3 separate regions of the Homo sapiens genome follow, and all the other regions are linked to region 1. Evidence: promoter capture Hi-C in 16 types of primary human blood cells and fetal thymus (Javierre and others, 2016). All regions are on one chromosome and are shown on one strand. Each heading gives the region's core, a stretch centred on a gene start or on the middle of the fragment in contact. The rest is flanking DNA. Distances are from core to core; before and after follow the strand shown. Region 1 holds the start of NEK1 (NIMA related kinase 1). Region 2 overlaps PALLD (palladin, cytoskeletal associated protein). Region 3 overlaps DDX60L (DExD/H-box 60 like).

Region 1 (3,714 bases), core at 256-2,755:
AACAGGTAAATAAAGAATGTACATTCGTGAAAAGGTGTCATGTTCATGACTTAGACTAGAAGGCAGGAGATTAGACAGGGCAAAATTTACTTGGAATACAATGTCAATGTACTATTCACACGACCTCAAAAGAACTTCTGTGGTCAAGTCCGACGACCTTTATTAAATTCCTGACAGTGACTTTTAACGTGAAAAAAACCTGTTTTCCCACAAAATAGGCTCCTTACATTTCACCTAGAACAATGGATATTTTAAGTGAAACAGATCTGTAGAACCTCTAAAACCAGACAAATGTAAACTAGAAACAAGGAGTTACTTCTCTCCAAATTTGGCTCCCCTCCATCAGCTCTACAATACTGCTGCATCATAAAAAAAGGTCATTAACTTAGATTGGATGCCACTTTTAATCCTTCATAAACATTTCTAATGAAACATACCAAGGCAATAAAAAATATTTCTGCTTCCTAAAGCAGATCTTAAAGAACAAAAAATAGGCCTGCAAAAAAAGTTATGATAAACTCTTAAAGTAGTACAACAATTAATGCCTTACATATGGAAACTGTGTCAAATCATGGAAACAGAAATCTAAGATTACAGGGTAACCAGCTAACTACTACTCATATTCGCTTCCTAATTAAAATTTATCAGTAATTTAAGATTGGACACAACATAAGCAATGCAAATGCTTGCTTATCCATACTAAGATTCCTATTATTTTAATCCCATTACCGCTCTAGTTTTTAAAAATACCGTAATGTCCAAGAATCGCTTTGTTAATACAGAGTGTCTTAGAGAATTAACATTTAAATGAGATTAAGGTATTTTCCCTGCAAACACTTAAGGTATCTGTGTAATCTCAATATAAGCAGTTCTACGCACATCTCATTTCCAGGATGATTTTTACCATTTTGCATGTCATTCCTTCCCCCAAGTGGAACTCACCTCAGTGACACAGGACGTTAGTAGGAATAACGGTGATGACTAATAAGCATCAGTCTAGGTGTGGCAGTCTTCCTACGGGGCTTAATAAAGCAGAGGTACCATCCCGCATTTTGAAAATGACATCCTGAAAGAGAAACCAAGACTGTCTAACCAGCAGCAGCTCACAGTCCAGACTGAAAGGGGGCACTGAGACTCTCCACACCTGACACTCGTCTTCAGTTGATACCACGGGTTTGACTCCGTCCTGTCTCGGGCGACGCCCGTAAGACAGGTCGACACTACCCCGACGAAACAAACAAACTGGTTTCTGAGCCCCGTAGAAACGGCGGGGTGCAGCAGGGGGAGTGCCTCCGTTACCGCCTCTCCAACTTCACAGAGGTCGTTGCTAGTGGCCACGGCGGGGTGGGGACGGGCGGCGTTCGGGACTGGGAAGCTACTTGACTGCCACGTGCTCCTGCCTCGCAACAGCGGCTCTAGATTCCGAGTTATGGGGACAACTGCTCGAGAGGCCAGGGTAGGGTAAGGACTCCGCAACCTAGGGTCCCAAAACCCTGGAGCGAATGCGGACTAAGGGAGAGCGGCCGGCGCGTCACCGGCGCTGGCGTGTGACGTCAGCGCGTGGAAGGCGGCACGCAGCGGAGGCGGCTGGGAAGGAGCAGTGAGGCTGGGCTAGAACCGTAGGGTCGGGCGGGGTGCTGTGCGAAGGGGCGGGCGGGGTGCTGTGCGAAGGGACGGGAGGGGCGGGCTCTGCAGGCGGGAAGACAGAAAGGACGAGACGGGAGAGATGAAAAGGATGGAGAGAGTGTAAAGCTGTTAAGAGTCATGCAGAGATGCGGGAGAGAACTCACTAGTTGAAACCAATTTGGAATATAAAGCATATAAAATTTTCCCACAGCTACTACACCGAGAAAGGGACTTTTTTATTTTACATGAAAGCGCACTACTTAGGGATGCCACATTTTAAAGAGCAATTTTGCTTTAAAAAGCAAGTCTTTTCCTATTATATCTTGGATGGTTGAAACAGAAGAATGTTTAAGTCTTGAGATATTTTTAAAAAGCTGTATGGGGTTTTCTACACCTTTACATCTAATGTATGTATAAATTACTTGTCTGTATGTTGAAGGGTTTGGAAATGTACAGCAGTCTAAGTACATTTTTTCACTGCAGGACTGGCGAAGGTAGGAAGAGATTCCCCTAAAACTATAATAAGGGATATCATCTGGCGTCATCCTGAGTGGCCCTACTCAGGGCAACTTTATTCCTAGGGACATTGAAAGATTTTGGCGGCTTTGCCAGACGATGGCGCTGCAAGTCACCCAACCTGAAAAGCTGGAGAGTTTGTTTTATCTCCTCTTCAATCGCCATACAGCTACAAAAGACTTATTTTCCTCATTCTTTCTACTTCTAGTCTACACTCCTGTGGGCCCTCCTACCCCCAGTTAGTAGGAATTATCATGTCTGAATGCACAATTGTAGTTCTACCCACATCCTTTTGTACATCAAAGTGAAGTGAAATGTTGCCAATTACTAATCTAAGCAAATTCTTTTTGCTGCTTACAGGAAGAATGGCTAGTCAGCTAACCTCCTTAGATAATTCTTTAGGCTCATGTCATAAACTATTGGTAGGACTACAAACTGCTACAGTCTTTCTAGAAGGTATGCTAGCAGTATGCATATCCTTTGACTCAGCAATTTAACTTCTGGAACAAGTGAGCAATGATTTATATACAAGGATAACCGTTATTGTTTATAACCAGAAAAACTAGAAATACTGTAAATGTATAACAATAAAGAATTGATTAAATTATAATATATCCAAACAATGAAATACTCTAAAGCCATTTAAAAGAGTAATCAAGATCTACTTTATTGACATACAAAGATACCATTGATATATTGATGAGTAAATAAAGCAGGTTACCTAAGAAGATTACCTGATTTCCCTTTCTGGTTTATATACCCCTGTACAATTGATTTTTTTTTTTATTTTTAAACAAGAGTGCTTTGGGGTTTCTTTTTCTTTAAATATTTTATTGGACTTTTCTTTCAAACAAAAAAGTTTTTGCTTCTTGCAACAAGCCAGTAACACAAGTACACAAAGATAAAGCCTATCGTCTCCTTCCCAGAGCTCTTCTGTGCTGTCCTCCACGAAACCAATGTTAACAGTTAATTAATATCATCTACATTTTTCTCTAAGTTCCTAAAAACATAAGCATGCATTTTTATATTTTATATATTAGTCTTAGTCTTTTATTTACTTATTTATTTTGGAGACAGGGTCTCATTCTGTTTCCCAAGCTGGAGTGCAGTGGCGCGATCTTAGCTCCCTGCAACCTCCGCCTTCCAGGCTCAAGTGATTCTCCCACTTCAGCCTCCCGAGCAGCTGGGACCATGGGTGCGTGCCATCACACCTGGCTAATTTCGGTATTTTTTTTGTAGAGATAGGGTTTTTGCCATGTTGCCCAGGCTTCTTGTGTGTGTGTTTTGTAGAGATGGGTTCTACCATGTTGCTCAGGCTGGTTTTGAACTCCTGAGCTCAAGTAATTCTGCCTGCTTTGGCCTCCCAAAGTGCTGGGATTACAGGCGTGAGCCACTGTGCCTAGCCGGGACTATAGTATACATATTATTTTGCAACGTACATTTTTAAATTTAATAGTATATGAACATCTATGCGGATATCAACTAATTCTTGTGAATGATATTGATATTTCATGATATGGCTATACCAAAATCTACTCCATTCAGTAGACATATTGTTTCCAATGGTATAAT
Region 2 (3,577 bases), core at 385-2,884, 1.1 Mb before region 1:
AGCTAAACTGCTAAAGCTGGAGATGATGGATAAGACAAGGATGAGAAAAAGAAGAAGACAGAAGAATTTCTAGGAAATTCAGATTCCTTCTGAGAAAAGTGAGGAGGCAGGGGACAGGACAATTTAAAGATGCCAAAGAATCCTTTATTCTTCAAAATTTCAAAATCTTTCAATGCTACTTACTAAAGTAGAACCACTTTAATGGCGTTGGTGTTTACCTCATTTCCTCTTCACTCATTAACAGCAGTATTAGTGGGTCTTTTTAGTCTATTTCATCTTCTGTGTCTATCACACCGGCATAGAATTACCAAGAGCACTGTTTGACAGAAAACATGAAATCTCAGGCAAATGATGGAGATGTTTGTGATTGTGTTTCATTCCTTTTGATTTTGACCTTTTCATTTTGGAGTGCTGACTGACATGGAAATCTCTGAAGCACAATTTTCCAGTGAACTTGGCCCGCTTGGAAACCGCCCTTGTTCATCCTCATTGAATGAGCATTTTCCCTAGACCACGTGCATGTTCCCGCGGCAATAACTGGCTTGCAAATTAAGCCTGAACCAGATATGCCATAGAACTATTATTTTCTTTTTCAATGTGCAAGCAGTTTTAAAGCTACACCTAATCCTGACTACTGGATCCTGTCAGATGGCGCCTCTTTAAAACCAAAATATGAGTTAATAAGCAGGTGAGATAATCTGCCTCCAGCAAACACTCCCTACATTAAGAATTGAAAATGTTTTCATCATTCAGAAGTTTGCTTTAAGCTTTGTTATATAATGCTCCTTGTGAAGTTTTAAAATGTATCATATTATGTTCATTTGGAACTAAAAAGCAATTGAATTAATAGCAGAACTCTGATTTCTGATCCACAGTTTTGTTAGTTTGATACATTGCTTAGGATTCTCAATTATGAAAACTACAATGGTAAGATGGTAAAGTGCATAGAACATGAGCTCTGGAGTTATTCCCTGGGCTTAAACCTTGGTTCTCCCACTCAGATTTTCTGCCTCCATTTCCTCCTTTCTAAACCAGAGGCTGCTGTGAGGGTTTTAAATGAAATAATCTACATGATGACTCTGGGCACAATGCCCACCGCAGGGTAAGCAGTCCATTATTAGCCATTATCATTATCAATCATCGTGATCATTAATTGCCTTTATATGTGTTATATGAAGTCATTAGGTAGCTAATGTTCTATAGAAGGGGTTGGCAATTTTTTCCTGTAAAAGTGCAGGTAAATATTTTAGACTTCATGTGCCATATAGTCTCTGTTGCAACTACTCAACTCTGACATTGGTTCAAAAAAACAAAGACAATCTCTACATTCAAACTCCTACCCATGAATTCCAACCCAGCATATATGTCAAAGGCCACCTATTCCTTGACCATATTTTCAATGGCCTTGCCCACTTCCCTCCCATTTTACCTGCATGTCAAACTGGGATCATCTATCTCTGTACCTTCACCTGGATGGCTGAGCTCTGGTGGAGAGAATTGCACAATCACACAGATTAATGACACTATAAATACATCACATCTAACTTCAACCAGGCCCTCACCTCTACCCATAAATCCTTCTTACAAAACTTCCTTCCCCCTTTTTCTACAACAGCTATTTCAAATCATCTTCTGTCCTCATAAACCTCCAATGCACAGAAGTCTCAGTTTGGGAACTCTCCTTTCTTTCTATTACAAATTTTGCAGAGAATCTCATGTTTCTCTCTCTCTCCCTTTCTCTCTTACCGCCCCCCATGCCCCAACACACATACACCCTTTGTTACTTCTCTCCTTTAACAATGAAAGAACTGCCCCCTTCCTACTGGAAGCTGAACACCTCATACTCCGTTTGTCCTATAATAACTCATTTCTTCTTACATCTTTTGAGAGCTGACCTATAAATCATCCCCGCTTTTTTACATTTATTTTCAGCTTCTCCCTTCTTACTGCCTAATTTGGTTTGTATAAAACATGTTACAGCGCTCTATCCTAAAAATGAACAAACCTCACCAGAGTCTATACTTTTGTTCAACTACTACCTTCTGTCTCTCCTTCTTTCTATGATCTTTTCAAAACAAACCACCACACCTGTAATATTTTCTTTCTTTCCTTCTTTCCTTTCCTTCCATGTAGCAATCTGGCTTATATTTCTGTTGCATACACCGAAAGTGCTGTTGCAATGGTGCTAAATATTCCCAAGTTGCTAAAATCAAAAATCAAAAGGACATGTACTGCTTCCTGAGATATTTTCTTTCCCAGCTTCCACGATATCTAGCTTTTCTTGCTTCCCTGTGATTATTCGAAGGATTCTATCTTCTCCTTCTTTTTTCCTCGATGACCTTATGCATTCCCATGTCTTAAAGTGCCACCCATAGGCTAATAATCCCCAATCCAGCTCTGTTCTCCCTTCTCCTGGGCTCTAGATCAGCATCTCAAATCTCCTAGACATCAACACCAGAGTTACCAAAGGTCCCTCAACTGCAAAAGGCTCAAATCAAAATCAAGCTTAAAAAATAAAATAAAATAAAATAAAAAAACTTGTTCCTCCACTTGTAGCATGTAAGTTAATGGTACCAGTCATCTGGTTGTTGAGGTGAGAAACCTGTAACCCTGCCTCTGCATCACCTCTGCCTTTAATCAATTACCAAGTTCTTTCCTTTCTATCATCTATCTTATGGACCCTGGACCCACTGCTTCCCTGAATCACCAGCTCTCACTTCAGAGTCCAAGAAGGACACATCTAATCGCTGTCTAGGCCAAGTGCCAAGACTTGTGCCCAGTCTCCAAGCGGCTGGGAAAGAAAATACTTGGAGATTTCACATCCCATTACAAGTGAGTTCAGTTTCTCACTGAGCCTCAGAATATGAGGAATTCTCCAAAATGAAGACGTCCAGATGACAGCAACACCAAACGTGAAACCATGATAAATGTGTGCACCCCCTGGATTACTGCACAAGCCTTCTCACGGACCGCCCTACTGTCAGTCTTGTCTTCCTCTTTCCCTACCTCTGTCCCGGATCCAGACTGCAATCAGTTATCTCTCAAAAATGTAAGTCTGGTGATGTTTCTCAAGGACTTAACACTCTTCCTTGCCTACTGACTACCCATAACATAAAATGCAAGTTCTCTGCATGGCTCCAGGCCCTCTCTGACCTAACTCCTGCTTTCTAGCCTTATCTCTGGTTATTTTCCCATCTCCAGATAGATTTCTGTTTAGCTGAAATGCTTAGTAGAATTACCTGAGTCTGCCATGTGCTCTCTGGGATCCAAGTCTTAAAATACATATTTGCCAGTATCCTCTTCACCTCCCCGCTCTTCCTCATCCCTCACACATCATTCTTTCAGCTTTCTCTCTTTCACAAAGGTTTCCTGATCCTGACCTTGCTGTTGCTTCTAGGTGCTATCACAGCACTTTGTTTTTCTATACCACTGCAGGATGACTATAGCTAACAATAACATACTCTATAGTTTCAAATGGCTAGAAGGAAGATGTTGAATGTTCCCAACACAAAGAAATCATAAATGTTAGAGATGAATATGCTAGTTGCCCTGATCTGATCACTATAAATTGTACGTA
Region 3 (3,995 bases), core at 1,025-3,524, 1.1 Mb before region 1:
ATGGAAATTATCACAATAGAGAATCTGTGAGGCTTTGTCACATACAGTAGATGATATTATGGCTTTCACACATTTTTTAAAAAGTTAACTCCTTATTTTCCCTTAGCAGTATATCAGGTTATAGAATCAGAGATACAACAATGACAAATTACATTTCAATTTGTAAAATTATGTGATGATATTTATCATTCGAAAATAGAGGAATAAAAATCTGTCCTCATTTCACCAGATGTGAATTTCAAGTAGAGCAGTTGCTATTAAGAGTTGGTGCATGTTTCTGACCAGTCCCCTCCTGTTATGGCATCACTGGTTGTCACTAGCAGCTAGCCAAAAAATAAAGTCTTATTTTGCTGTATTAGTCAGGATTTCTGCAGTTTATGTTTAAAAACTGGTTTAGAGTATCCAGGTGATGGATATATGGTCCATGTATCCCCTTTTGGTAAGCTATAGTTACAATCTGTGTGCTTTGTTGCCTGCTACACAGAAAGCAGCAGATAATCAAAGATTTAAGGGACACAGACAGCTGCCAATTCACAAAATGAGAGTGTAACATGAAAGCTTTTTAGAGGTTTTTTGTTTGTGTTCTAACAAAACATGTTAGAACACGTTTTGTTAGAATACGTGTTGCTTTTGCAGTGTTCTTCTTTTCCTTAAGACAGGAATCAAGCTTACATATAAACTGTTGGTAATTTTAGTTTCCTTCTGTGTTATTCAGTGTAAAACTGCATAATCTGAAAATGAATGAAAAAATAAATATTTAGTGGCTAGGCACAGTGGCTCATGCCTGTAATCCCAACACTCTGGGTGGCCAAGATAGGTGGATTGCTTGACCTTGGGAGTTGGAGACTAGCCTGTACAACTCAGCAAGACCCCATCTTTATAAAAAATACAAAAATTAGCCAACCATGCTGCCACACGCCTGTAGTCCCAGCTACTCAGGAGGCTGAGGTGGGAGGTTCACTTGAGCCCAGGACACAGAGGTTACAGTGTGCCAAAATCATGCTACTGCTATGTTGCAGCCTGGGAGACAGAGTGAGACCCTGTTTCAAATTTTAAAAAAAGAAAATTTAGTTTCCATTCCAAAAAAAAAAAAAAAATGAAAGAAGGAGCTAACTAACACTAACATCACTACAAATCTTTAGGCAATAAGAGGAAAATAAGAGAATATTATAGGCAACTTTATGCCAAAACATTAGACAACTTAGATAAGGCGGGCAAATCCCTTGACATATACAATTAACAAAACTGACACAAGATAAAACAGAAAGTCTAAATGGCCCTATATTTATTAACGAAATTGACTTTGTTATCAAAAATTTTATTCCAAGGAAAACTCTAGACCCAAATGGTTTCACAGGAAAATTTGATCAAATTTTATCAAATTCGTCTGAGGAAATAATACCAATCTCATAAAGACTTTTTCAGAAAATAGAAGAGGAAAATGGACTTTTCAACACATTCACCAGGTCGGCATGATCCTGATACCAAAACCAAACGAAGGCATTATAAAAAATAAAATTGGCCTGGCACGGTGGCTCATGCCTGTAATCTCAGCACTTTGGGAGGCTGAAGCAGGCAGATCACCTGAGGTCCAGAGTTCAAGACCAGCCTGACCAACATGGGGAAACCCCATCTTTGCTAAAAATACAAAAATCAGCCAGGCATGGTGGCGCATGCCTGTAATCCCAGCCACACAGGAGGCTGAGATAGAAGAATTGCTTGCACCTGGGAGGCAAAGGTTGCAGTGAGCCGAGACCATGCCTTTGTACTCTAGCCTGGGCTACAGAGTGAGACTCCATCTCAAATAATAAATAAATAAATAAATAAACAAGTAAAATTACAGATTAATGTTTTTCATGACTATATACCAAAAACACTTAAAATATTAGCAAATCAAACCCAGCAATATATTAAAGAAAGGATATCTATCATGACCAACTAAGGTTTTCCCAGGAATAAAAGATTGAATTAATATTTAAAAATCACTTAATGTAATCTACCAAATTAAGAAAGTAAAAGAGGAAAGGTGTATCAGAGTTTCCATAAATGTAGAAAAAGCATTTTTTAAAATGTAACACCTATTAATTATAGAAACTCTCAGAAAACCTAAAATAAGAAGAAATTTTCTCAATTTGATAATGGATATATGTAAAATAACTACAGCTAATATGATACCTAGTAGGGAAATAATGGATACTTTCCCTTTAAGATCAAGAACCAGGTAAAGATTCCCACTCACTCTACTTCAGCATTTCTAGAGATGCCAATCACTGTAATAAGGCAAGAAAAAGCAATTAAAAAATAAAATTGGAAAATAAGAAATAAGCATGTATTTATTCACTGAAGACATTAAAAAATCTAAGAAATATACAAATAAGCCACTGAAATTAATAAGTTGTTTTAATAAGATTGCAGGATACCAGTTAACAAACAAAAATCAATTCTACTTCTATATACAAGCAGCAAAAACTAAAAAATTATTTTTAAAAATTCAATTTACGGTAAGATCAAAACATGAAATATCTTGAAATAGATTTAGCAAAAGATGTGCAACGCCTCCACACTGAAGACTACAAAACTGATAAAACAAATTAGAGATCTTAAAAAACAGAGATACATATTGTGTTCACTAACTGAAAGACTATATTGGTCTACAAATTTAATGAATATCATTAAAATCCCATCGTTCTTTTTAAATAGAAATTGGCAAGCTGATTCTAAAATTCGTGTGGAAATGCAGAGAACCTAGAATAGCCAAAGTTAAACAAAGAAGAACAAAGTGGGCTTCAAGATTTACTATAAAATTACACAAATCAGGACATTGTGGTACTGGTAATTTGTTAAATCCTTTGATGGAACATAGTAGAAAGCCCAGAAATGGACCTACACATATATAATCATTTGATTTTTTGATGAAGAAACCAAAGCAATCCACTGGTGGAAGAAAAATGTTCTCAACAATGGATGCTGGAACAAATCAACCTCAATCCCCCATTCACACCACAAACACACAAAAATTAATTCAAGAAATATCATAGACCAAAATGCAAAAGCTGAAACTACATACTTCTAGAATTATTAATAAATATAGGAAAATATCTTTGTGACTAAGAGATAGGCAATGATTCTTATCAGGATACAGGCACAATAACCATTAAAGAATAATAAGTTAGATTTCACCAAAATTAAAATATCTGGTCATCCAAAGATAGTACTAAGAAAACGAAGTGGCAGCCGGGCACGGTGGCTGATGCCTGTAATCCCAGCACTTTGGGAGGCAGAGGCGGGTAGATCACGAGGTCCGGAGATTGAGACCATCCTGCTAACACGATGAAACCCCATGTCTACTAAAAATACAAAAAAATTAGCCGGGCATGGTAGTGCATGCCTGTAGTTCCAAGTACTTAGGAGGCTGAGGCAGGAGAATGGCATGAACCCGGGAGGCAGAGGTTGCAGTGAGCCAAGATTGCGCCACTGCACTCCAGCCTACGTGACAGAGCGAGACTCTGTCTCAAAATGAAGTGACAAGCCACAGACTGGGAAAATATATTTGCAATAATATACATGACAAGAGGTTGTATACAGAATATATCAAGAACTACTACAACTCAATATTAAAAAGATAAAGAACCCAATTTAAAATGGTCAAAAGATACGAGCAGATGCTTCACAAGTCATAGTATACAAATGAACAATAAGCACTTGAAAAAGTAGGCAACATCATTAGCCATTTGATAAATACCAATTAAAACACAGGGACATAACACTACACATCCACCAGAATGGCTGGACTGACCAAATACAAATGTTTGCAACTACACAGGGCACCAGAACTGTTATTCATTGCTGGAGTGAGTGTAAAGGGGCACAACTACCTTAGGAAAAGCTTTGGCAGTTTTATAAAACATATATTTCAACCACAGATACATGCACAAGGAAAATAAAAACTTACGTCCACACGAAGACTTGCATGTGAATGCACATAGTAGCTTTAT

Evidence for each region. Contacts are between HindIII fragments. The CHiCAGO score rates a contact against its expected background, and 5 or more counts as called.
Region 2: a fragment that was not itself captured here is called in contact with the fragment with the promoter of NEK1 in region 1 in 5 of 17 cell types (non-activated CD4 T cells, naive CD8 T cells, monocytes and 2 more); the score reaches 9.6 in non-activated CD4 T cells.
Region 3: a contact is called between a fragment that was not itself captured here and the fragment with the promoter of NEK1 in region 1, in 1 of 17 cell types (activated CD4 T cells). The highest score is 6.7, in activated CD4 T cells.

The regions. Positions count from the first base shown.
Region 1 is chr4:169,611,078-169,614,791 of GRCh38, forward strand. It overlaps NEK1 (NIMA related kinase 1), which reads right to left and starts at 1,506. Exons shown (of 36, transcript NM_001199397.3): 1 at 1,145-1,506; 2 at 943-1,066. RefSeq lists enhancers at 979-1,098, 1,519-1,578. The HindIII fragment of the contact is 11,256 bases long and covers 1-3,714 here.
Region 2 is chr4:168,504,650-168,508,226 of GRCh38, forward strand. The region is part of intron 1 of PALLD (palladin, cytoskeletal associated protein); the gene reads left to right. The region is part of intron 1 of LOC107986198 (a long non-coding RNA gene); the gene reads right to left. Among named protein-coding and RNA genes, the nearest start is that of PALLD, 9.4 kb to the left of the region's middle. The HindIII fragment of the contact is 1,738 bases long and covers 766-2,503 here.
Region 3 is chr4:168,466,365-168,470,359 of GRCh38, forward strand. The region is part of intron 4 of DDX60L (DExD/H-box 60 like); the gene reads right to left. Among named protein-coding and RNA genes, the nearest start is that of DDX60L, 12 kb to the right of the region's middle. The HindIII fragment of the contact is 3,219 bases long and covers 666-3,884 here.